Linked DNA regions of Homo sapiens: regions 1, 2 and 4 are each linked to region 3. Evidence: promoter capture Hi-C in human tissues and cell types (Jung and others, 2019). All regions are on one chromosome and are shown on one strand. The core of a region is centred on a gene start or on the middle of the fragment in contact, and the rest is flanking DNA. Distances in the headings are between cores, read along the strand shown.

The links. The method cuts DNA at HindIII sites, captures the fragments that hold promoters and counts their contacts. A contact is called where the count stands out against the background at its distance.
Region 1: a contact is called between a fragment that was not itself captured here and the fragment with the promoter of PLK5 in region 3, in 2 of the 25 tissues and cell types used here (lymphoblastoid cells and psoas muscle).
Region 2: a fragment that was not itself captured here is called in contact with the fragment with the promoter of PLK5 in region 3 in 1 of the 25 tissues and cell types used here (lymphoblastoid cells).
Region 4: a contact is called between the fragment with the promoter of EFNA2 here and the fragment with the promoter of PLK5 in region 3, in 5 of the 25 tissues and cell types used here (dorsolateral prefrontal cortex, liver, lymphoblastoid cells and 2 more).

The regions. Positions count from the first base shown.
Region 1 is chr19:1,731,886-1,734,841 of GRCh38, forward strand. No RefSeq gene overlaps it. Among named protein-coding and RNA genes, the nearest start is that of ONECUT3, 20 kb to the right of the region's middle. The HindIII fragment of the contact is 7,385 bases long and covers 1-2,956 here.
Region 2 is chr19:1,696,953-1,700,126 of GRCh38, forward strand. No RefSeq gene overlaps it. Among named protein-coding and RNA genes, the nearest start is that of TCF3, 46 kb to the left of the region's middle. The HindIII fragment of the contact is 4,391 bases long and covers 1-3,174 here.
Region 3 is chr19:1,522,079-1,525,326 of GRCh38, forward strand. It overlaps PLK5 (polo like kinase 5 (inactive)), which reads left to right and starts at 1,999. Exons shown (of 14, transcript NM_001243079.2): 1 at 1,999-2,168; 2 at 3,227-3,248. LOC107985337 (a long non-coding RNA gene) reads left to right here. Exons shown (of 3, transcript XR_001753835.2): 3 at 1-399. The HindIII fragment of the contact is 15,366 bases long and covers 1-3,248 here.
Region 4 is chr19:1,284,563-1,287,494 of GRCh38, forward strand. It overlaps EFNA2 (ephrin A2), which reads left to right and starts at 1,311. Exons shown (of 4, transcript NM_001405.4): 1 at 1,311-1,746. The coding sequence starts at 1,607. RefSeq lists enhancers at 395-895, 896-1,396. The HindIII fragment of the contact is 32,397 bases long and covers 1-2,932 here.

The DNA of each region.
Region 1 (2,956 bases), core at 243-2,742, 210 kb after region 3:
TGGGCGCGGTGGCTCACACCTGTGATCCCAGCACTTTCGGTGGCCAAGGTGGGAGGATCACCTGAGGCCAGGAGCTCCAGACCAGCCTGGCCAACAAGGTGAAAGCCCGTCTCTACTAAAAATATAAAAATTAGCCGGGCGTGGTGGCGGGCGCCTGTAATCCCAGCTACTCGGGAGTCTGAGGCAGGAGAATCGCTTGAACCCCAGAGGCGGAGGTTGCAGTGAGCCGAGATTGCACCACTGCACTCCAGCCTGGGTGACAGAGGGACATTTGTCTTTAAAAAAAAACAAAAAAAAAAGCTACATGCTGAACAGTGAGTAGAGACTGGTCACATTAAGTCAGAGTATGTCTCTAAGTATATACAGATACTTTTTTTTTTTTTTCCCCTTGAGACAGAGTCTTGCTCTGTCACCCAGGCTGGAGTGCAGTGGCGCGATCTCGGCTCACTGTAACCTCCGCCTTCTGGGTTCAAGCGATTCTCCTGTCTCAGCCTCCCGAGTAGCTGGGATTACAGGTGTCCACCACCACGCCCGGCTAATTTTTGTATTTTTAGTAGAGATGGGGTTTCACCGTGTTGGCGAGGCTGGTCTTGAACTCCTGACCTCAGATGATCCACCTGCCAGGCCCTCCCAAAGTGCAAGGATTACAGGCGTGAGCCACCGTGCCCGGCCACGGATACTCTTCATGGTGTGTATCATGAGGCCCTAGGACAGATAATGAAGGCTTCCACGTCCAAGGGCACAGGGTGGCACGGGAAGGGTTGAGGTGGGCATTTATTTTTTTGCTGTTTCCATGTAAGTTTTGTTTCTCCCACGTATATATGTATATTACTTGCTCAAAAACAGATTGCAAATGTGACAAAAATTACAGATACCTATTTTGTAGTTCAGCTTTTCTGAGGTTCGCAGGACAGGGGACGCCCCTCCCACAGCCCAGCTCCTCTGCAGATGGCTCTGATCTGACTTCCCCAGGGACCCAGGGCTTTTCTCCCGTGATCCCTGCTCCTGGCCTCCAGTTCCCGAAACTCACCAGCTCTGAGCAGGTAGGAAAAAGTGGCTTGTGTCTACAGAGCCCAGTTCTTCTATAAAGTGAAAACAGGCAGCATCGACAAGCATAACCGCCGGGCACGGTGGCTCACGCCTGTAATCCCAGCACTTTGGGAGGCCGAGGTGGGTGGATCACCTAAGATCAGGAGTTCGAGACCAGCCTGACCAACATGGAGAAACCCCGTCTCTACTAAAAATACAAAATTAGCCAGGCATGCTGGCTCATGCCTGTAATCTCAGCTACTCAGGAGGCTGAGGCAGGAGAATCGCTTGAACCTGGGAGGCGGAGGTTGCTGTGAGCTGAGATCGTGTCATTTGCACTCCAGCCTGGGTAACAACAGTGAAACTCCGTCTCAAAAAAAAAAAAAAATCCACTCCAGGCTGGACATGGTGGAGGGCACCTGTAGTCCCAGCTACTCGGGAGGCCGAGGCAGGAGGATCTCTTGAACCCAGGAGGTCGAGGCTGCAGTGAGCCAATTCTCCTGTCTCAGCCTCCCTAGTAGCTGGGATTACAGGTGCCCTCCACCACTACACTCCACCCTGGACAACAGAGTGAGACCCTGCCTCAAAAAACAAAAAAAACAAAACAAATAAAAAAACAATGCAGTCCTACCCCTTGCCTGGCTGCCCCTGACTCTTAAGGGAATGATGACACCTCCCCGCCAGGCCCACAGACGCTGCCGACCCAGCCCCTCCTCACCTCAATGCTCTCCTAACCCCCAAGCCTTTGCCTGCTTTTCCTACTTCTCTTCACTGAATGAACTCCTGCACCTCCTACGCCTTTCGGGGCAACGGTGCCCTTCTCAACTCAGGCTCCCAGACCCGCTGTCAGCCATGGTTTAAAGTCTGCCACTGGCCGGGCACAGTGGCTCATGCCTGTAATCCCAGCACTTTGGGAGGTCAAGGTGGAGGACCACTTGAGGCCAGGAGTTCAAGACCAGCCCGGGCAATATAAAATTCGCTGAGCATGGCGGTGCAAGCCTGTAGTCCCAGCTACTCAGGAGCTGAGTGGGGAGGATGGCTTGAGCCCAGGAGTTCGAGGCTGCAGTAAGCTATGATTGCACCACTGCACTCCAGCCTGGGTAACAGAGCAAGACCCTGTCTCTAAAAAAATAAAGTCAGCCACCACCCTCACACTGTGAGCCTCTCCCATCACCACAGGGCCTTCCATGGCCAGCTCCAGGCCTGGCATCAGCGGGTGCAGGAAAAGCTCAGTGGAGCGATTCCACATCTAGGGCTCGGCTTGTAAAATTAAAATAAGTGGAGACCCCCCCACAACCCCCAGCCACACGCAGGCAGTAGGAACCCGGGAGATGGGACGAGCGCCGAAGGGTTATTAGCAGATGCCTCGAGCCCCCTCGAGCCCCGCAGAGTGGGGGAGGATGGCGGAGGCCCTTTTAAGGACCCAGTATCACCGTCCTTTCTCGGCCAGCCGGGCACCCACCCACCTGAGTGAGCCTGGAGCAGCCCATTAAGCGATTTTTTTCCTCCACTTACGGTTGGCAGCATCGACAAGCATGCTCGATATCTGACGAGGTGCTGGCCTTGGAAGAGAGCGAGCCGCCTCGATAAACTATTCCCTCTTGTCAGCGCCTCCTCCCGCACCCAGCCCGGAGCTTCGCGTTTGATCCCCTCCCCTAATGAGCTCGGTTTTCTCCCCTCCAGGCGGATGAGACGCTCCCCCCACCCTCGCCCGCTCAGCCTTTCAAGTTCAGCTGGGCTGAGATTCAAGGTGGGGGCGGCGGTGGTGGAAGGAAAACCATTTCCAGGTTCCGATGGGGTCACCTCCCCCAGGAAGTCCTCCCAGAATTTCTGCAGCTCAGATGGTCTCGTGCATTTGTGGGGAGGGTCTGGGGTACAGAAAGAGACTGGGACCTAGATATGGGGGGTCGTACAGCAGTGTCCAGGT
Region 2 (3,174 bases), core at 569-3,068, 170 kb after region 3:
AGGTGCGCGGATCACGAGGTCAGGAGATCGAGACCATCCTGGCTAACATGGTGAAACCCCGTCTCTACTAAAAATACAAAAAATTAGCCGGGCGAGGTGGCGGGTGCCTGTAGTCTCAGCTACTCGGGAGGCTGAGGCAGGAGAATGGCGTGAACCCGGGAGGCGGAGCTCGCAGTGAGCTGAGATCGCGCCACTGCACTCCAGCCTGGGTGAGAGAGTGAGACTCCATCTCAAAAAAAAAAAAAAAAAAAGAAAGAAAGAAAGAAAGTTTGCAGAGCCTGGTCTCGAGGGTGGAGTCCAGAGGTGAGGCTGGGAGAAGGTGAGGGCTGCTGGAACATGGCAGAGCGGGCGTATTCCAGGGAGACTTGGGTGAGACTCGAGGATGCTGGAGAAGGTAACCATCGGGGTGGGGTGCGAAGGAGGGCAGCAACTCTCCTGGGAGATGGGATGGATGGTGGGGCCGTGGGTGAGATGGGGTCATGCAGAGAGGACAGACCAAGGCCCCAGTGGACCCTGGGGGACCCTGTGGCTGTCTTCAGAGCAGCCCCCGAGGTATCAGTGCTCACAGCAACTTGCGGATACAGCCTAGAAGGCCCCATGCCTCAAAAATTCTTAGAGTCTGAGGAGCTCAAGAGGCTCACATCAGCTTCGGGAAGCTCTGTAGGGCGGCCACCAAGCTGGACTGAGGGATGGGCGGAAGCAGCTAAGGCCTAAATTGGTGGAGGTTGGCCGGACACAGTGGCTCATGCCTGTAATCCCAGCACTTTGGGAGGCCGAGGCGAGGATTGCTTGAACTCAGGAGTTCGAGATCAGCCTGGGCAACATAGTGAGACCACCCCCCACCCCCGCCAACTTATACAAAAATTTCAAAAATTCAGGCCGGCACGGTGCTCATGCCGGTAATCCCAGCACTTTGGGAGGTTGAGGTTGGTGGATCACCTGAGGTCAGGAGTTCAAGACCAGCCTGACCAACATGGTAAAACCTTGTCTCTACTAAAGATACAAAATTAGCTGGGCCTGATAGCTCATGCCTGTAATCTCAGCTGCTTGGGAGGCTGAAGCAAGAGAATCGCTTCCACCCAGCAGATGGAGGTTGCAGTGAGCCGAGATCGTGTCATTGCACTCCAGCCTGGGCAACAAGAGTGAAACTCCGTCTCAAAAAACAAAACAAAGCAAACAAAAAAATTCAAAAATTAGCCGAGTGTGGTGATGCACACCTGTAGTCCCAACTACTTTGGAGGCTGAGGTGGGAGGATCGTTTGAGTCCAGGAGGTTGAGGCTGCAGTCAGCTATGATTGCGCCACCGCACTCCAGCCTGGGTGACAGAGCGAGACCCTGTCTCAAGAAATAAGAAGAGAAGGAAGTTGGTGGAGGACATTCCACGCCAAGGAGCCCATGAGCCCCGGCTGGTGGTGCACGTGGAGCATTTGAAGTCACCACCAGTGACCCGGCCCAGGTGCCTCTGCAGTGGGACGGGAGGCCGGCTTTGGTCCAGCTCAGACAGAGCTTCAGATGCCCATCAAGGGATGGGGGGCTTTGTTGGGAACCCCATGGTGCCCCCTGGGCCTGCACATGTCGCCCCAGTCCCAAATATGCTCCCACCTCTGGGGCCAGGCCACTGAACGCCCTTCAGGACACTGTCCAGGGGCCAGAGTCACCATCTGCTGACCCGGCACCCAAATCTTCCGCCTCAGACCCTCCTGGCCCTCCGGTTCTCCCTCTGGCTGGCCCTCAGCCCTCCCTGGCACGGACCACGTCTTCCGAGGATGCCCCGGAAGATGCACCGTGGATAAGGCCATGCGATCAATAGGTCCATCGGCCGCCGGGGGGGCGGAAGCGCGGCTCATCAGGGCGCCTGCTGTCCCCTCCCCACCCTCCAGGAAGGCGGATAAGGCCCGGGGACCCTCTTAAGGGACGCCTGGCACCCGCCCGCCGCCCGGCACTCCTATCTCCCATGGAAGGACCCAGTTCCTGAATTGCCCCATGGGCCGCGCCGCAGGCCTGCACCGAAGCTCTTAATAGCCTGGGCCTAATGTTTTATTGTTGGTTTTAAAAGTGTAATTAGTTCAAGTGTAAACAGAAAAAACCTGCTTAATTAAGAATTTTTAAACAGGGGCATAAAGCGGGAGCGGGAGCATTGACGAACCCCAAGCTGCTTCATAACATCGATCGGAAGAGGCTCCGAGTGGAGGGCCGGGCGGGGCGGGCGCCGCGGGGGCCTGGGAGCCTCCCCTGGATGCCATTTGCCGCCCGGGTGAGGGCCCCGGGGACCTGCTGGTTTACGATCGGGGTCTCGGGACCGGTGCCTAATGATTTTTATGCATTAATGGAGATGACAGTTGGCCAAGCAGGCTGTTTAAGAAGCCTTTATGGGGGGCTGGGAGCCCAGTCCTGTGACCCTGGGCTGTCTCGGGGGTGAGAACCCCCGCTGGGAGGGAGGCCCTGGCGCTCCCACCCTCCTGGGGCCGGCTTGCTGGGCGGGGTCCGGGTGTTGCCCCCTCTCCAAGTGGCACCCACCGAGGGAGTCTCAGCATCACCGTGTCACCTCCCGGCCGATCCGGCCTGTCTCGGAGTCAGGACTTGAATTTCCTTCGAACTGCAAGGGGCTCTGCCTTCTACAGAGCCGGGGCGGGGCGGCCCTGACAGTGGGGCTGGGGGCGTGGGCTGTGCCATGTGCCTGGCATGGGGCCTCATGCCGGAATGAACCAGAGCCCAGGGTATGCTCAGCCTGGCCCCGGCCGCTGGGGAGGGGAGGGTGGGGCCCTGACCCTTCACCAGGAGGTGGGGAAGACCCCAGGCGGGGCTTAGGGGCACCCTGGGTTTGGAGATTTGGCTGCTCTAAACGTAGAGAGCCTGGTGGCCCTTGGCACCCATGACCCTGGAGAGCAAGGCCTGGGGGTCTTGGGGGGCCACAGGCGAGCCCAGGCAGGGGCTCTGCTCCAGCCTCAGTGCCCTGGTCTGTGGCAGGTCTGGGGGTTCCTGCCCTTGTGAGCCCCCAAGGATGCATACACGGAGGGGGGCTCAGAAGGCACCAGCACGTGGAAGCTGGTGGGGTCCTGCTCTCCGCCTGAGCCTCACAGAGCCGGGGGGTTGCTGGTCCCGGTCACTTCCCACCCCCATACCGACCCCTATGTGGAGATGGGGGACAGGAGCTGGCCTGGACTTTGGTCCTTG
Region 3 (3,248 bases), core at 749-3,248:
CCTGCCTCAGGGACAAGTTACTGCCCAGAACGGGCCTGGCTCACTTCCTTCCACCTCCAAAGCTTTCCTTGACCCCTGACTTGGTGAAGTCTTGGACGTTCTTGCAGTCCGTTAAGCAGTGGTCCTTTTACGAGGACAGGGCTGGGTCTGCCTTGGGCTCGCACAGCCTGACACAGGCCCATATGCAGTAAGTGCTTAACAAATGCCTGAACTGATGCCAGGATGGACTGGTGCTATCAGGAAGGAACCGGAAGCCAGGCCTGGTGGCTCACGCCTGTCATCCCAGCATTTTGGGAGGCCGAGGCAGGCGGGTCATTTGAGGTCAGGAGTTTGAGACCAGCCTGACCAACATGGTGAAACCCGTCTCTACTAAAAATACAAATAAATAAATACATCAGCTGGGTGTGGTGGTGCATACCTGTAGTCCCAGCTACTTGGGAGGCTGAGGCAGGAGAATTGCTTGAACTCGGGAGATGGAGGTTGCAGTGAGCCAAGATCACACCACGGCACTCCAGCCCGGGTGACAGAGCAAGACTCTCTTTCAAAAAAACAAACAAACAAAAAAAAAAGCAAGGAACTGGCTTTCTGCCCCTGGAGGATTCCAGGGTGACAGTCGTGTGACAGCTCAGACACTCGGGCCCCGAGCAGCCCACCTTGCAGCCACCTCACCTGATTCTCATCAGCAGGGGACTTGGGCTCCCCAGCTGCAACCCGGTGGCCCCAGGCTGGCCAGGAATCTTCCGCCCTGGCCCTGGGACCAGAAACCCCGCAAAGGTGCCCGAGCTCAGCCCCGTCCAATGCACGGGGGCCCCATTCGTGACACCAGGTGGACACGTGACGGCTCAGAAGGTGTTTCCTGTCCCTAGTGGTGTGGCCGGGCCAGATTCCGAAATCTGGTCCCTGGAAAATTCCAGCCCCACGGAGCCTGGTAACCCCTCCCCATTCCTGGTGTTATGTAACATTTGGGGATTAATACCGCAGGCGTCCAGGGGCGGCTGCCGGGATTCAAACCCAGCGCTGCCCTTTCCTGGGCTGACTGAGCGACTTTGCGTCCCTGGGTCTCAATGTCTTGCCTGTACAATGGGGACAAGGCCCGTTTTTGTGTCCCAGGCTGGGTGGAAGGGTGAGGGAAGACCTCACCAGGAAAGGGGTGCACCTGAGTCTGGGGCAGGGCTTGGAGCAACCACCCCCACGATTCCGGGGGAGTCTCAAGCCCCCCACTGTCTTCCCACCCAGCTGTTCTCTGAGTTCTCTGAGGTTTCTGATGCTCTCTGAGGTCGCCATTTCAAGGACGTCCCCACCTGGCTGTCCGTGCAAACCCCAGCCAGGGTCCACCTGCTGCTCCACACAGCCCATCCCTTCTCCGGGCTGAAGCTCCCTCATATGGGACATCCACTACACTGTAGGACCCCAGCCCATGCGTCCCCAAGCCCCGGTCCTGCCTCCTGGGTCCCTGTCCCAGGCCTCACCGCCCTCCCCACCAGCCCCAGCATCACAAACGCTGGGCTTCTCTGCCGCTCCGAATTCTGCTGTGGCTCCCCAGTGCCCAGGGCCATCAAGCCCCAGGTTTTCATGTGGGCCCCAGGGACCCGCCAGCAGGGAGGACCCGAAATGGCACACATTCAGAACGTCGAGGCTCATACCTCAAGCGCACTGTGGGGGAGAAGCCCCCGGAAGCCCCCAACCCCCCACGCGCGAGAGAGCCTCAGTTTCCCGCTCGGTAAAGCGGGCGTATCAGCGGTTCCCAGCCAGCCCGGGTGTGCAGGGTCGGAGGAGCTCGCGGGCTGAGCGCGGCCCCTGGCGCCCGGTTGGCGTGCGGGACTCGGGCGCGCTCTGGTCCGTGGAACTTCCCCAGCCGCGGCGTCCCCGCCGCTCACGCGCCCCCCACTCCACGGCCGGGCACCTCCCGCCCCTCCCCGGGCTGGACCTGCGCCCGGGCTCCGCCCCCTCCCCGCCCCCGCGGCCAATAAAACGCTCCCCGGCGGCTCCTGCGCCCTCAGAGCGGCCCCGGAGCGGCCGCAGCGCGGTGGTCTCGGCCCGGCTGCGCCAGAGTCCGCGCGATGGAGCCCCGGCCGCGGCGGCGGCGCAGGAGTCGCCCCCTGGTCGCCGCCTTCCTGCGAGACCCGGGCTCGGGCCGCGTGTACAGGCGCGGGAAGCTGATCGGCAAGGTGGGAGGCCCGCGCCCCGAGTCCGCGACGGGGCCGGACCGGGCTGGGCTGGGGTCCCGGGGCGCGCGGGCGATCCTGCGCGGTCTACGCGGCGCGTCCCTGCGAGCGCGGGGTCTGGAGCGGGCGCGCGTCCGGAGCCGCGGGGCCTCCCGTGCGGGGTTTCGCATGGCGGGAACCGTGTTGAGCGCGCTGTGCGTCGTGTCCGTGGGTTGCGTGTCCGGGGTGTGGGCGTGCGGCTCGGCCTCGGGATGCGACGCTGTGTTGCCCCTGGGTGTGTGTGCGAGCCTGGCGAGGGTCTGAGTGTGCCGCGTCTGTGCCCGCTGCTTCCAAGTGTCTGGGTGCTGTGCGGTGTTCGTGTGTGTGTGTGTGTGTGTGTGTGTGTGTGTCTGGGTGTTGTGTTGCTTGTTCACCTGTTGTTTGTGCGTCATGCCTTTGTGTGTCCAGTCATTGTGTTGTGTGTCTGGGTGTTGTGTGTTCATGTGGTGTGCTTGTGTGTTTGTGTGTTCATATGTGGTGTGTCTAGGAGTTGTGTGTTCATGTGTTTGTATCTGTGTCTTTGTCCATGTGTTGTACTGTGTGTCCAGGTGTTGTGTGTTCATGTGTTTGTGTGTTCCTGTGCTGTGTCTGGGTATTGTGTTGTGTGTCCACACGTGGTGACTGTGTGTCCAGACATTGTATATTCATGTGTTTGTGTGTTGCTGCGTTGTGTATCTGGGTGTTGTGTTGTGTGTCCATGCATGGTGACTCTGTGTCTGGGCGTTGCGTGTTTGTGTGTCGTATTCAGGCGTGGTGTTGTGCATCCGGTGCTGTCTTCTGGTCCGTGGCCTCTATGCACCAGGCGTGGATGTGTCTGTGTCTGTGTCTCTGTGCCTTCTTGTGTGCATCATGTCTTGTGTGTCCAGGCGGGAGGGTGGGAGCTGTGTGTTGTTTTTTCCCCGGTGTGTGTGTGGAGAGACCTGGACGCGCCTGCGTCCCTGGCTGCCCTGTGCCTCTGTACGCGCTGCCAGCTTGCACACCCGTGCACACCTGCCCACTGATCTGCTGACCCCTCCCCACAGGGCGCCTTCAGCCGCTGCTACA
Region 4 (2,932 bases), core at 61-2,560, 240 kb before region 3:
TGGTGTGGCCCGCGTGGCCCGCTGGGGAATCGGGGGAGGAGGGCACGCAGGAGACACAGGACAGAGCCCACCACGTCTCAGAGCTGTGGGACGGTGGTGGGTCCGGTCCCCACCCCACCTTGCTGGGGCACAGGTTAGCTTGCCCATCTCTGGGTTCACGGTCCCTGCCAGGAGTTTGGGTAATGCCTCACACAGGGACCTTCGGGTCCAAGGGCTGTTGGTGCTTGCCCTGCAGTTCCCTCTCCTGCACTGGGCCTGGTGAATGACACTAATTCAGAGACGTACAACACGATCTGGGCATCGCCAGCAAAGTCCAGCCAGCGTTTGATGACAGCCTACCCTCCACAAGCTCAGAGTCTGGTGAGGGAGGCTGTGGCATGAATAAGGGCAAAAACAGAGGGCAGGCCAGGTGCAGTGGCTCACGCCTGTAATCCTAGCACTTTGGGAAGCCCAGGTGGGAAGATCGCCTGAGCCCAGGAGTTCAAGACCAGCGTGGCCAACATGGCCAGACACTGTCTCTATAGATTGGAAAAAAGACAAAGCAGAGGCCAGGCCCCCAGTTCCCCACCTGTGTCAGCCTACCAGGAGGAGAAATCACTCGGCGTTCCCTGAACAGATCAGACCCCGGGTCTTTGCACAAGCTGTGCCCCCGGGCAGCGGCCCTCCCCTGCCTGCAGGATTCGTGCGTGGAGACTGATTTGCTGTCGGCCGGGGCTTCACTCTGGGCTTCTTGGATCCCATCCCCAGCTGCTCACACTCCACATCGGTCCACCTACTATGCTCCCGGCACCCTTAGGGCTGAGGTGTAGGGACTTACTCCATCCCCAGGGAACAGCGTGGGTCCGGAGAGGCGACTCCCAGGAGGGCCCCAGGGAGGTCGCAGCCCGAGCAGCTTTGGACTTTGGCCAGCGCCCCTCTGAAACTCTGCCCCGGCCCCCGCAGGGAGACTGGAGTTGGCCGAGCCCGATTTGGGACGCGTGCGTCGGGGTTGGTGAGGCTGCGGATAGCGCTGGAACCGGGCAGGTGAGAGGCCCGGGACCCAGGGCCGGGCCGGGTGGAGCGCGTGGGGGCGCGGGAGGCAGGGTGCGCCCCCGCCCCTCGGAGACCCCAGGCCGGGCCACGCGGATGCCGGCGGGGGGCGCGCAGAATCGGGGTCGCTGGGGGCAGGCCCCGGGGGACGAGCCTGAGACGGGGTGGGCCGGGGCAGGGGGCGGGCGCAGGCTGGAGACCCCCGCCCAGTCCCCGCGCGGCCGGGGCACGGCGGGAGGGGGCGCCCGCGGCCCTCCCGACGCTCGGGCGGGACAAAGGCCGGAGCCCGGGCCCCTCCCCGGCGGGTGCGGCGGCGGCGGCCCGCGCTCCGACAGTCCGCGCGGCCGGGTCCTGCGCCCGGGGCGACCCCGGCGCCCCGCCCCGCCGCCGCCTGACTTCTCGGCGCCCGAGGTCGCGCGCGCGGAGGCGGGGGCGGCCCGGGATCTCCAAGCGCCGCCGCGCCCTCCTCCCGCCCGCCCTCCGCCCGCCCGCTCGGCGGCGGCGGCGGCGGCGGAGGAGGCGGAGAAGGCTGGCAGGCGGCGGCCGGGAGAGCGAGCGCGGCGGCCGGACCGGGGCCATGGCGCCCGCGCAGCGCCCGCTGCTCCCGCTGCTGCTCCTGCTGTTACCGCTGCCGCCGCCGCCCTTCGCGCGCGCCGAGGACGCCGCCCGCGCCAACTCGGACCGCTACGCCGTCTACTGGAACCGCAGCAACCCCAGGTGAGCGCGGCCGCGCGCGGGGGGCGCCCGGGGACCCCCCAACGCCCCCCAAGCCGCGCCCGGCCTCGCGCCCCCGGAGCTCCGGGCGCCCCCCACGCGCGCGCCGCCGCCGGGATGCGGGCGCCCGGTTCCCGCGGGAGCCCCCCAGGGAGCTCCGGCCCCCCGGAGTTTGGGGGACTCGCCCTTTTCGCGCCTGCCTTCCCCGGGGCGCCCCATTGCCCTACGGACTGTGGGGACTCGCGCCCCACATCCCCCAGAGCGCCGACGTCTCCTGGAGTTTGGGGAACCCCTCTGGTACCCTCCGATGCCGGGTAGCCCCTGAGTTGCCTGCCTGGACTTGGGGGGACCCCTGATCCACCCGCTTCTCTGGGGAGCCCCCTCGGTTTCGCATTTGGTGGGGATCCCCGGGGACCTTGGCACCGGAGGTGGGGGACTGTGGCCCTCGAGGGATCTCTGGGTTCGTCCTGCCCGCAGGTCCCCAGATGAACTTGGGGAAGTTGGAGTGTCCCTCCCTCAGGACCCAGCATCTGCTTCACTCCAGGGGGCCAAGGGCCCAGCTTTGAAAGGAGACTGAGGGGCCGGGGAGCTGGGGGTCAGCCCCGGGAGGGGCAGTGGGATGGAGTCCTCTCTTGTCCTCTGGGCGCTGACCAGGAAACTGAGGTGCAGAGGGGATGAGGAGCTGGCTCAAGGTCATGCAAGGGGGGGACTTGGGGGCAGGACCCAGGTGGCCCAGTGCCCTGCCTGCCACGCCCGGCCGAGATGCCGCACCCGCCTGCTGCAGGCCCCCTTGTTTTGAACCAGGTCCGGGCCAGGCACAACGTGGGGGACAGGAGAAGCCCCCGTTGGTCAGAGCAAAAAAAGTTTGCCGGGGCCTGGCCATGGCCTGGACGTGGGTAGAACCCTCTGAACCATCCCAGGGTCTCCAAGACAGGAGCAGGCTGCAGCTTCCCTGGGGGTCCCGTGGGAGCCGGGGCTTTGGGGGTCCTGGGGCTCGGGAGGGAGTCAGCCCCAGCACTCAGGGTGTCACCGTCTTCCTAAGGCACACGGAGCTGCACATCGGGGGCTGAGGCGGCCCCCCCCCACTCTTCTGCTACTGGTCACTTTCTCTCCGTTTTCCAGCCGCTTCCTGTGCCGACCGAGCCGCCCTCTGGAGCCCGCCACCCCTCCTTGTCCCCTCTGTCTCCTG